Regions from separate parts of the Homo sapiens genome. Here region 1 is linked to region 2. The links are contacts of gene promoters, found by promoter capture Hi-C in blood cells and fetal thymus (Javierre and others, 2016). All regions are on one chromosome and are shown on one strand. The core of a region is centred on a gene start or on the middle of the fragment in contact, and the rest is flanking DNA. Distances in the headings are between cores, read along the strand shown. Region 1 holds the start of LOC107986720 (a long non-coding RNA gene). Region 2 holds the start of NDUFB2 (NADH:ubiquinone oxidoreductase subunit B2).

Evidence for each region. Contacts are between HindIII fragments. The CHiCAGO score rates a contact against its expected background, and 5 or more counts as called.
Region 1: a fragment that was not itself captured here is called in contact with the fragment with the promoter of NDUFB2 in region 2 in 1 of 17 cell types (erythroblasts); the score reaches 5.5 in erythroblasts.

What each region holds. Positions count from the first base shown.
Region 1 is chr7:140,993,516-140,999,841 of GRCh38, reverse strand. It overlaps LOC107986720 (a long non-coding RNA gene), which reads left to right and starts at 3,090. Exons shown (of 3, transcript XR_001744994.2): 1 at 3,090-3,173. LOC105375536 (a long non-coding RNA gene) reads right to left here. Exons shown (of 5, transcript XR_002956518.2): 5 at 6,071-6,109. It also overlaps the pseudogene CCT4P1. The HindIII fragment of the contact is 4,084 bases long and covers 395-4,478 here.
Region 2 is chr7:140,694,529-140,701,236 of GRCh38, reverse strand. NDUFB2 (NADH:ubiquinone oxidoreductase subunit B2) reads right to left here and starts at 4,529. Exons shown (of 4, transcript NM_004546.3): 1 at 4,395-4,529. The coding sequence starts at 4,492. It overlaps NDUFB2-AS1 (NDUFB2 antisense RNA 1), which reads left to right and starts at 4,160. Exons shown (of 2, transcript NR_024454.1): 1 at 4,160-4,322; 2 at 4,417-5,901. It overlaps ADCK2 (aarF domain containing kinase 2), which reads right to left. Exons shown (of 8, transcript NM_052853.4): 8 at 6,127-6,574. The coding sequence ends at 6,434. RefSeq lists an enhancer at 4,211-4,520. The HindIII fragment of the contact is 6,958 bases long and covers 1-5,495 here.

The DNA.
Region 1 (6,326 bases), core at 1,187-3,686, 300 kb before region 2:
GATGTAACACATAAGGAGAAAGTTTTAGTTAACATGCCCAAGTAAAGATGTTGTTTGGACCATGGAGCAGGGCACCCACCAGGGCTGCCAGCTGCTGTGTGAAAGGTGCCTGTCAGGGATATGACAAGCAGGCTGAGATCTGGTTCAGCAACATCACAGCCAAAGCTGTTGCTGATGCTATTAAAACAAGCCTTGGACCAAAAGGAATGGGAAAAAAGATTTAAGGTGGAAAAGGCAATGTGATCACTACAAATGATGGTGCCACCATTCTGAAACAAATGCAAGTGTCACATCCAGCAGCAGAATGCTGGGGGGGCTAAGATATAGAAGCAGGAGATAGCACTGCATCAGTTGGCACTATTGCTGGCTCTCTCATAGGTTCCTGGGCCAAGCTTCTTCAGAAAGGGATTCATCCAACCATCACTTCCAAGTCATCCCAGAAGTCTTTGGAAAAGGGTATTGAGATCTTAAGTAACATATCTCAACCTGTGGAACTGAATGACAGAGAAACTTTGTTAAACAGTGCCACCAGTTCTTTGAACTCACAGGTTGTCTTTCAGTATTCAAGTTCTGCTTCCTCCGACGAGTGTAAATGCAGTGATGAAAGTGACCCAGCTACAGGTACTACTGTAAATCTTAGAGATATTAACATACAGTCATGTGTCATGTAACAGTATTTCAGTCAACAACAGACTGCATATGACAGTGGTTATAATGCCATGTATTTGCTGTACATTTTCAATGTTTAGATATGTAGTATTCAGTATAGTAACATGCTGTACATGTTTATAGCCTACAAGCAATAGGCTATACTATGTAACTATGTGTGTAGTAGGCTATACCACCTAGGTTTGTGTAAGTACACTCTATGATGTTTGCATGACAAAATGACCTAACAATGCCGTTCTCAGATTGTACCCCATTGTTAAGCAATATATGACTGCGGTTAAGAAACTTGGTGGAAAAATTGATGACTGTGAGTTGGTGGAAGGTCTTATTCTCACCCAGAAAGTGGTAAATTCTGGCATAACCCAATTTGAAAAGGCTAAGATTGGGCACATTCAGTTTTGCTTATCTGCTCCCAACAGATTTGGAAATCAAGTAGCAGTTTCTGACAATGTTCAGATGGACTAAATGCTATGAGAGAGAGAGCCTATATTTTAAGTTTAGTATAGCAAACTTTTACAAATGGGATATAATGTCCTTCTCATACAGGACACTTTAGAGACGCTCCTAGTGATCTTGCATGACATTTCCTGAACAAAATTATTATGTTGGTTAAGAATATTGAAAAAGAAGATGTTGAATTCATTTGTAAGACAATTGGAACCAAGCCAGTTGCTCGTACTGACCAAGTCACACTGACATGCTGGGTTTTGCTGAGTTAGCTGAGAAGGTCAGTTTAAATGGTTCTGGAAAACTGCTCAAGACTACAGGCTGTACAAGTGCTGGAAAAACAGTTAAAATTGTCATAGGACTGAAGAATTGAGCCTTCCATTCACGATGTGCTATGTATTATTTGCTGTTTGGTGAAGAGAGCTCTTACTGCAGGAGGTGGTGCTCCAGTAGAATTGGCCCTATGGTTAACTGAATGTTTGTGAACATTGAGTGGTATGGAATTTTACAGTGTTCATGTTTTGCAGATGCTATGGAGGTCATTCCAACTACACTAGCTGAAAATGCTGGCTTTGAATCCCATTTCTACAGTAACAGAACTAAGAAATCAACATGCCTAACAAGAAAAAAATTGCAGGCATTAGTATCAAAAGGGCAGTATTTCCATTTTGGAAAACTGGTTGCCCAACTTTTGTGATTTCATTTATTGCTCTGACCCTAGCAAATGAAACTGTCCAGAGAATTCTGAAAATTGATGCTGTGGTAAATGCTCAGAAATCTGGATAATACTGACTGACTTACACTCTTATAGCTACTAGTATTGTGGCTGAAGGGGAAGATCACCTTAGTGCTCCTTATTATTTGGAAGATTGTTTCCTCTATGAATTCCTGGGCTTGGTCTTCCAATTGGCATTTGCTTGAAATTGCATTGATACAATTTAGTGAACACATTAAATATTTGGTTTCCCAAAAAGATAATTATTTACATTTAATTTATATAATTTATCTTATAATTTTTATCAAAATTTTAATAGACATTTTTGGAGTGCAGTTGGAAAAACAATCCATTTGGAAAACCAAATAGGAGAGAACACAAGAGAAATTGTAAAATGCAAGAATAATGTGGGGACCCATATGAGATGTTGAAAATTATGTAATTAAAATTGATTTTTAAAAATCAGACCACTGACATTGGTGGTCTCAAAGAGGTATTTGTACACTCATGTCTACAGTGACATTATTCAGACAAATGGTCTGCTTCTGAACACAGAAGTGCATACAAAGAGGTAGCCATTGTTGTTGCACCTCCTCCTATTCTTGCAAGCCCCTCTGCCTTTAGCTGAAGTGACTTCAGGGGATTTAAAGGGTAAGAACCCTCTTTTCTCCTCTATTTTTCTCATTTTACCCTTTTGGGAGCCAGGCATTTTGTCACTACAAAAAAATACAAAAGTTAGCTGGACGTGGTGGCATGTGCCTGTGCCTCTAGTCCCAACTAATCAGGAGGCTGAAGCAGGAGGATCAATTGAGCCCAGGAGGTTAAGTCTGCAGTGAGCCATGTTCAAGCCACTGCACTCCAACCTGAGCAACAGGAAAAAAAATACACACACACACACACACACACACACACACACACAGAAATGATAAAGGAATTTAAACATTTCTCTAAAAAAAATAAAGGAAAGTTATATAAAAATTAAAAGAAAATGAGGAACTAAAAAGCCATAAGGCATGTAGAAAACATAGCAAAATAACAGAAGTCCCTGCTTATCAGTAATTACTTTAAATACAAATGGATTAAAGTCTCTAATCAAAAGACAGAGATTAAAAGAATGGATAAAAACACATGATCCAACTATATGCTGTCCATAAGAGACTCACTTTAGATCCAAAGATACACGTAGAATGAAAGTGAGAAAATGGAAAAAGATATTCCATGAAAATATTAACCAAAAGAGGATGTCTCTATTGCCTAGAATCTGACTCAGTTGGCATCACTAAATTTTTGTTGAATGAATGAAAGAAATATCCAAACTCACCTGGATTGAAGAATAAATGAGGTACATTTTTCTCATTATATTAAAAGAGAAAGTAAGAATAAAAGGAAAGAGAGTAGGAGAGACAGAAGGATGGAGGGAAGAATAAAGAGAAAGATAGATGAATGATAATCCATTTGAATTGACAATATGATTTAGTAGAACTGGAAAAATTGGTGGCAGTGTGTTTAGTTTAAACTTACTGAAAAAAAATCTGGCAGCATGTATACTTAGCTGTTAGTAATATCCATGTTTTTTGACTCCAAAATGCAAGTCGTAGACCTTGTTTTCTTTTTTTTTTTTTTTTTCTGGGGATTGAGTCTTGCTCTGTCACTCAGGCTGGAGTGCAGTGGCACGATCTCGGCTCACTGCAAGCTCCGCCTCCTGGGCCCACACCGTTCTCCTGCCTCAGCCTCCCAAGTAGCTGGGACTACAGGTGCCTGCCACCACGCCCAGCTAATTTTTTTTTTTTTTTTTTTTTGTATTTTTAGTAGAGACGGGGGTTTCACCATGTTAGCCAGGATGGTCTCGATCTTCTGACCTCGTGATCTGCCCTCCTCGGCCTCCCAAAGTGTTGGGATTACAGGCGTGAGCCACCACGCCTGGCTGACCTTGTTTTCTAAATACTATTCTCCAACAAAAGAAATTGTGGTTCCTTGGAAAAATAGTGGATTCCAGAGTTGGGAGAGGTTAAGACACAAATTATGCTAAAAAGTGATGAAGTGCCCCCCCATAAAAAAAAGGATGGGGATCTTGTCGAAAGGGCACGAGAGCCAAACTGAAAGAGCCCCCTATGGCCAAGGCTGAAACAATTTGAGCAACAAAATAAATAAGAATACTACTGGATTAAGCATAGTACTATATTATGATAGTACTAGATTAAAACCCAATGGTTAAATAAAAATCTTTGAGTCCATACAGTATAAATAAATTGAGGAGAAGGTACTTTACTTTACAGAAGAATTCCAATTGTAAAATGTAAGGAATAAGGAAATAGAAAATCTCGGTTAGAATATCGCAGTAATAATAACTGCAAGCAGTATCCACTGATGGATGCTAAAACTGATGGGCAAAAGTTTAAGGAGAAGCAGGATATTTGTATGCTCTCAAAGTATCCCCCCCACAAAAAATATTATTTACAAAGAGAAAAGTAGTAACTTTACGGTGGAAAAAAATTTCTTAGTTTTGATAATTATACTCTGGTTATAAGATGTTAACATTAAGGGAAGTTGGGTGAAGAATATACAGGAATTCTCTGTATATTTTTGCAACTTTTTGGTAAGTCTAAAATTTTATTTAAAATTTTTTGAATTGTACTTTCAAAAAGCTTTTTTGGCTGGGCACAGTGGTTCATGCCTGTAATCCCAGCACTTTGGGAGGCCGAGGCAGGTGGATCACCTGAGGCCAGGAGTTCGAGACCAGCCTGGCCAACATGGTGAGACCCTGTCTCTACTAAAAATACAAAAATTAGCTGAACGTGGTGCACACCTGTAGTCCCAGCTACTTGGGAGGCTGAGGCAAGAGAATCGCTTGAACCCAGGAGGCAGAGGTTTCAGTGAGCTGAGAACACACCATTGCACTCCAGCCTGGGCAATAAAGCGAGACTCCATCTCAAAAAAAAAAAAAAAGTTTGTTTTTTTTAAATATGTTTCAGGAAAAAAAAATTGACACAGGGTCTTGTTCTATCACCCAGTCCGGAGGTCAGTGGTGCAATCATGGCTCAATGGCAGCCTCAACCTCCTGGGCTCAAGCAATCCTCCCACCTCAGCCTCTCAAATACCTGGCACTACAGGTGCATGCCACCACACCCAGCTAATTCTTTTACTTTTTGTGGAGCCAGGGTCTCATTATATTGCCCATGTTGGTATTTAAGACTATTTTAAGACAACATAGGCCAAACACAGTGACTCACGCCTGTTATCCCAGCACTTTGGGAGCACTGTGGGAGGATCACTTGAGCCCATGAATTGGAGACCAGCCTGGGAAACAAAGTGAGACCCCGTCTCCACAAGAAAATTAAAAATTAGCTGGGCATGTTAGTGTGTGCCTGTGATTCCAGCTACTCAGGAGACTGACGTGGGAGGATCGCTTGAGCCTGGGAGGTTGAGGCTGCAGTGAACTGTGTTTGGGCCACCGTACTCTAGGCTGGGCAACAGAGATCCTGTCTCAAAAAATTTTTTAAAAATGAATATACGAGTTCATGTATAGAATGCTGTCAGTTATCAAAAGAAAAATGCAAATGAACAAAAAGACTGGAGGAACTATGCCCAAATATTAACATTTGTTGCTTATGAGAGATGAGACTATGGTTGGTTTTCTTTTCTACACTTTCTGAATTTTCCGTCACGAATGCTTACCATTTCATAATAATATGCAAAAAAAAAAACCAAAAAACGTTAAAAGAGCTAAAGGAGGGCGGGGCATGGTGGATTATGCCTGTAATCCTAGCACTTTGGGAGGCCAAGGCAGGTGGATTGCTTGAGCTCAGGAGTTTGAGACCAGCCTGGGCAATATGGTGAAACCCCGTCTCTAGAAAAAAAATACAAACATTACCTGGGTGTGGTGGTGCATGCCTGTAGTTTCAACTACTTGTTGGGGCTGAGGCAGGAGGATTGCTTAAACCTGGGAGGTCGAAGCTGCAATGGGCCAATATCACACCACTGCACTCCAGCCTGGGGGACAAGGTGAGATTCTTATTCAAGAAAAAAGACAAGGCCATGCATGGTGGCTCACACCTGTAATCCCAGCACTTTGTGAGGCCAAGGCAAGAGAATCTCTTGAGTCCAGGAGTTTGAGACCAGCCTGGGCAACATAGGGAGACCCTATCATTACAAAATAAACAAATTAGCCAGGCATAGTGGTACGTACCTGTGATTTCAGCTATTCAAGAGGCTGAGGTGGGAGATCACTTGAGCCTGGGAGGTCGAGGCTGCACTCCAGCCTGGGTGATCGAGCAAGACCTTGACTCAAAAAAAAAAAAAAAGTTGAAGAAAAAGCAAGAGGGACAAAAATGGGAAGAGAGAACATTCCAGGGTGAGGACATAACATGAGGACACAAATGTGGCATTGGAAGATGGCATAGACTTAAAAAGAGTAAGGCTGGGCACAGTGGCTCATGCCTGTAATCCCAGCACTTTGGGAGGCCAAGGCGGGCAGATCACGAGGTCAGGAGATCGA
Region 2 (6,708 bases), core at 3,280-5,779:
TGTTGCCTACAGACACACACCATTAACAATTTTCTCCTTTTATTAATCAAAGACATAACTTTTAACTAGAATTCCAACCAGCATGATAAAACCAATGTTACCATATTGAAATGATAAATTCCATTTTTTTTTCTAAATAGTCATCCAAAATTTAACACTTTTATTTGGAATGCTCTATTTAAGGTATTAATAACTAATTATGAATAAGGTGATTTTTAGTTTTTGCAGATGTGTGTATATATGTACTTTTTTAAGTATCATGTTTAAAAGGTCCTACCAAATATCGCCACTTTACAACTTGAATGACGTAGCATACTGTTTCCGTAATGTCCTCATATACCAATTATATTATTCATTCAGGATCTAGCTGTGCATATAGATATTACATTATGTAAATAAACCATGCAGGATCATTCAATATAGTATAACAAGAGCTTTTTTTTTTTTTTGAGACGGAGTCGCACTCTGTCACCCAGGCTGGAGTGCAGTGACACAATCTTGGCTCACTGCAACCTCTGCCTCCCAGTTCGAGCAATTCTCCTGCCTCAGCCTCCCGAGTAGCTGGGATTACAGGCATGTGCCACCATGCCCGGCTAATTTTTGTATTTTTAGTAGATACAGGGATTCGTTATGTTGGCCAGGCTGGTCTCGAACTCCTGACCTCAGGTGATCCGCCTGCCCTGACCTCCCAAAGTGCTGGGATTATAGGCGTGAGCCACACTGTGCCCGGCCAAGAGCCTTCTTCTTTGATAGCTTTTTGATACAATCTAGGTATAAGTGCCCAGCAGTAAAACTGATTAAAACAAGATTTGAAGGCCGGACACGGTGGCTTATGCCTGTAATCCCAGCATTTTGGGAGGCCGAGGCAGGCGGATCACCTGAGGTCGGGAGTTCGAGACCACCCTGACCAACGTGGAAAAACCTCGTCTCTACTAAAAATACAAAATTAGCTGGGCATGGTGGTACATGCATGTAATCCCAGCTACTCAGGAGGCTGAAGCAGGAGAATCACTTGAACCTGGGAGACAGAGGATGTGGTGAGCTGAGATCGTGCCATTGCACTCCAGCCTGGGCAACAAGAGCGAAATTCTGTATCAAAAAAACAAAAAAGATCTGAGTAATGCCGATGCCAGCATTATAGTTCAAACCCATCTTAGCAGCTCCCCACGCTTCGTTATTGCTAGAGTGACATGTTGTTTTAATCATAACCTGAAGTAGGGACTGCAAAATGGAAACCTTTTGGAACAAAGATTTGAAAGTCTGCAATTATATCACAGGAACAATGACAAGGATTGCCATGATTAAGGAATGCAAAGACTCAACACCTAATTCACAATGTTATGTTCCAAACCAGGTTGTGAACTGCATTGTGGCAAACTAGATACCCTGAACAACCCTCCAAATTAACAACTCTGCTGCTAGATGAGATTTTTAAGATTTTTACAAACATCACTGACCAGGCACAAAAGGAAGGAATCCACCAAGAGCAAAATTCAAGTAAAAACAAGGCCTGGAAGCTAAGCAATCAATCACTGAAGCTGCCTTCACCGGGAGCCCTTGAACCTCCACCAGGATAGCTACATGAGGTGTGGGGAAAGAGACGCAGCCTGGGGCCCACCCAAGGTGGGAAGGCTAATGACGAGGTCACTGAATAAAGCTGCAACCCCATATGGTAAAAGGGTGAACAAGAAATAAACCTTCCATGGACAAGGGAACAAGAATTTGTTATCAGAAGCCAGTCCTCAGGTAGATTTGCACCCAAATTCACATTACCTGCGTTGGACCTGTGTGGACCAAAAACCCCAAGCCGAGAATTTAATGTGAGCCTGAATTGGGGTGGCACCCTCAAGAGACTAAGAGAAGCACGATCTCAAAGAAATTCCAGGGAAAACAAGCTCAAGATCAAAAAACATAAGGAAGTAAGACACTATCAGCAAGTCCTGTAAGAAGGAAAGAGAATGGGGAAGAAACAACATCCAAGGAAATAATGGCTGTTCCAACTTCAAATGTTTGAGAGTCAAGTTTAAAAACAAAAATGCACCATAACTCTATTAGTTACATTTTTATTTTTATTTTTTTGAGACGGGGTCTCACTCTGTCACCCAGGCTGGAATGCAGTGGCACGATCTCGGCTCACTGCAACCTCTGCCTCCTGGGCTCAAGCAATTCTCCTGCCTCAGCCTCCCCAGTAGCTGGGATTACAGGCGCACACTACCATGCCCAGCTAATTTTTGTGTTTTTAGTAGAGATGGGGTTTCACCGTGTTGGCCAGGCTGGTCTCGAACTCCTGACCTCAGGTGATCCGCCCGCCTCAGCCTCTCAAAGTGCTGGGATTACAGGTGTGAGCCACCGCGCCTGGACAAAGTTACATTTTTAAAAAATAAATCAGACCACATTACTTTCCTGCTTTAAAACTCCAATGGCTCCCTGTGATTCTTAGAATAAAATTCCGAGTCCTCCAAAGCCCCCTCTAATCCGGCCCCCACACTTGTCCCTGTGACCTGGTCTCTCCCACTCTTCCCCTACGCTCCACTCCAGCCTGGCCTCCTGCCAACCCTGCGGGCTCTGGCCTCTCCACCTGATGCCTCCTCTGCCCTCTTATGTCCACCGGGCTCTTCCCTTGAGGTCTCTGCATGGCTGACTTCTCATCCCTCAGGTCCCGCTTCAAATCACACTCCCAGGCATTCCCACGCCATCCCCAAATACAATATCCCTTCTACTCCCACACCACGCATTCTCCATATTAATCCCCAGCTGTATTCTCTTCATAACCCTTAACAGTACTCAAAAAAGGTCTTTCTTTTCTACTGGTCTCTCCTCTCCAGAATGTACACTTCATTCTCTCTCGTATTCTGCTATATCCTCAGCACCTAGAAAGGAGCAGCCATATAGAAGATGCTCCATAAACATTTATGCACTTAATTATCACACACTCTGAAACAAGTGTGTGTTACGAACAAGCCAGCACCTCAGGGAAGATCGGCATTCCCCCATCTCCTCATGCAGGACCAAGGGCTGTCGCTCATGGCTCTCCATCACTGTCTTTGCCCAAGTCACACAGGGCTTTGCCTTCTGCCCACCCCACACCTGCCCCAGCTCCAGATTCTTCATCCATGTGGGACTTCAGGCAAGTCACTCCTTTCATTTCCTGGGCCTCAGTTCCTTAATAACAACAACAGTTAAAGAATACTTGTACGGTCCTTAGCAGGCACCAGCAATTGTTTTAAACACTTTAGTGAGACCAAGCGCAGTGGCTCGCCTGTATTCCCAACACTTTGGGAGGCCGAGGCTGGAGAATCACTTGAGCCCAGGAGTTAGAGGCTGCAGTGAGCTAGGATCGCGCCACTGCACTCCAGCCTGCCTGACAGAGTTAGACCCCATCTCCTAAAACACACAAACACGCTTTAGATAACAGTAACTCATTTAGTTCCTTGCAAATGGACGCCAAATGGGTGAGGAAACTGAGGCATTAAGAGAATAAGAAACTTTTCCAAGGTCCCACAGCTGGAGTGTGGCAGAGGTGGGATTTGAACCCAGCCACTGTGCGGCCAGAATCCCGCTTGGAATCACGACCCCACACTGCCTCTTGGTAAAGTGTAGCTGATGATCTAAGGGACCTGGAATCATCCATGACTCTTTTCCAGTCCTGCTCTTACGGAATCTCTGCACACCACTAACTCGGCTTCGGCAGCTGCTCCCTACCTCGCACCCGCTCCCTACCTCGCACCCCCAGCCCTCCGCCCTCCGGTCTGCGTCTCGGGCCACCTCGCGGGCGGCTCTGCCTGTCACTCTCCTAAACGCCACGGCTGCCCCAGCGTTGGCTTCCGGCTTTCTGCTCCTCTCACCCGACGGCGCTCTCTCTGGGCGACAGCCTCCACTCCCTGCAGCCAGAGTGATTTTTCAGCATTAAAAAGCGGCCACGTGACGTCTCCGATTAAAGGCTGCCGAACAGACTCTACCCTAAATTCCGCAGCCAGGCACCGGGACCCTGGACCGCGCCCTCCCTAGGCCTCACCGCCGCCGCCCCCCGCCTCGCTCCAGGAGCGTCCACACCCGCCGCGCACGCTGCTTCCTCCGCCTGGACCGCCCGCGCCGGCGCCGACTGGCTCAGCCCGCTCCGCATTCACGCGTGCGTCTCCCGAGGGCAGGCGGCCCCTACTACCATGACGGCCCTGCACACGGTGTCCCATCTGCCCAGCGAAGTCTCTCCCTCTCCCTCCGGCCAGCGGGGTCCCTCTCCTCGAGTCGCGGCTTCAGGAGACACGCGGACTACAGGTCCCAGCATGCCTCGGGACGCGGCCTCTTCAGGCGCCCCAGTCAAGGTGAGAGCGTCCCAGGGACCCGCGCTGTCCGCTACAGGCCGGCGAGGCCCCCATCCCCAGCCCCACACTCACTGACGGACTCCACCATCTCCAGCAGTCCGTGCGCAGCCGCTTCTGAAAAGGCGGCCTCCAACGCGAGCGAAAGACGCCAGCCGAGTCAGAGCGGACATACTCGCTCCCGTCCGCCCCGCGGTCCCCAGCCGCCTCGCCCCTGCCTACTTCGCTTCCCCGGCGCTCCGCCCGCGCCTCCCGTGACGTCACAGAGTCGCTCATCTCCAGGAGTGGGGGAGCCGGCAGCCGCTCCTGACCCAGATTAGCTGTGAGTCCTTCGGCTGCAGGAAACCTCTCTCCCGAGAGCAAAGCCCACGCATAACTTATGGTTGCTGAGCTGCCCCATGCCTTCTGAAACAGCTTGTTGGTTGCCCCTCTGATCCTGTAGGGCTCTCCCCGTGTTCTGCCCCTCCTAAAACTGAGTGGTGTATAATTCTTTTTTTTTTTTTTTTTTCTTTTTGAGACAAGGCCTTGCTCTGTCACCCAGGCTGGAGTGCAGTGACACCATCTCGGCTCACTGCAACCTCTGCCTCCCAGGCTCAAGCGATTCTCCTGCCTCAACTTCCCGAGTAGCTGGGATTACAGGCATTGTGCCAGGCTAAGTTCGTACGCAGCAATAGATAATGCCACAAATGGCTTGATTCGATCCACTGGCTTTAAGGCTGGGTTGGCATAGGCTCAGGGAAGAGACTGCCGTCTTTTTGTCCCTTTCCCGCCTCCACACTGTACCTGATGCGCACTGGCACGAGGGGCTGCGTGACCAGCTGGTGTTCTCCCTCCCAGCCATCTGGAGCCATCCCAACCCCTCTCTGCCTGCTTTGAATGTCCCCTCAAGACCTGGGAAGGAAAAAATAACATCACCTCCTTGAAAAAAACTGCACCAAAGGAATCTCTGTCCACCTAAACCATACTGCTCACTAAAAGACAGGAATGAGGAACTTTATCCTGGAGAAGGAAAGAATGGGAGAAACTAGTCCTGTAGTCAGGGCAGGACTCTCGGAGAGCGCAAGGGCTTGACTCCATTCGCTGCCTGGTGGTCTCTAAGACGAGCAACATAATCTATGAAGGTGCAGGGATAAACTGTGATTTTACCTAAAAAAAAAAAAAAAGAGAAATTAAGCTTTACAAATACCCCCCCTCCAGGCTGACCCCGGGCCCCTCCTAGTCAGCCAGACGGCCACATCAGCTCAGCTCTGAGAAGAAAGCCCGTGGTTGGGCCTGGCAGAGAGGGGCAGGTGGTGGTCACTGCAGGTCTGTCCCTGGGCGCTGCCATGGAGAAGAGGACACACTGGTTATATTAACTCTCTTCATATTCACCAAAATTAATGCCTGCAAGTGGACAGGCGCAGACACTGTGGCAGAGAAACTGTAGTTCCGGACTAGCGGGTGAACCCGGGGCCATGTTAAGGAAGTGGCCAAGCCGTTCTGCTCACGTCCCCGGTATGTCAGCCACTTTCATCAGTTTTGTTTTACCTTGTAATAAAAGTTACCAAGGAGTTAGCAAAATCTATTAAAAATTACCAAGAAGATAATTTGAAGTACAATGAAATTTGCCCTAAGTGTATATTATGCTGGCAGGTAGCACCTGCATGATATTTATACATAAAGAGTGTGTGTGTGTGTGTGTGTGTGTGCACATGCCACAGATCAGTAGGACTTGATGGCATTTTCTAACCTGAATATCAAAGTCTGGGAACTACCAGCAGTACCCATCTGACCAGGGAGTATAGCGGGTCAAGAAATGAGAAAAACAGGAAAACAAAATAAATTTATTCGTCCTCCTCCACATAACATTTTCCCTGAAGGAGAGTGTCCCTGGCACCTGGCCCAGCTTCCACAATGGAATGGATAGGCCCCTTCCCTCCTTTTACTCCCTAATTGGCCCAAAGCTTTTGAACAGACCCTCAAACCAAGCAGAGGAAGCCATGGTGTGCCTTCCACCACTGGAGGGTTACATTTGAAATTGGTGTCCCAATTTTAAAACGTCCCAGCTGCCATAGGAGAGGCTCTTGGGAGTGGCCTCCAGCTCTTGACAAGGGCCCACAGAGGCCACTGCCCCATCACGGGGGGCACACTGGGCCCGTGAGGAGGAAGGGCCTCGCTGCCTCCAGGATGTCCAGTTTGGGGTCCAGTGAGCGGCCAAGCCCCTCCAACACCATGATGGCAAACACAATGGAGGCAAAGTTGCTCTCAAGCTTTACCTGGAACAGAAAAACAGAACAGTTCATCTCAGAACATGCTGATACAGGGACGTGTGTTCTGGATAATCACCTTGCTGTCCACTCTCAGCCTCCCTCAGACCTGCCCACGGGATGTTTACCATCTACCTGACATT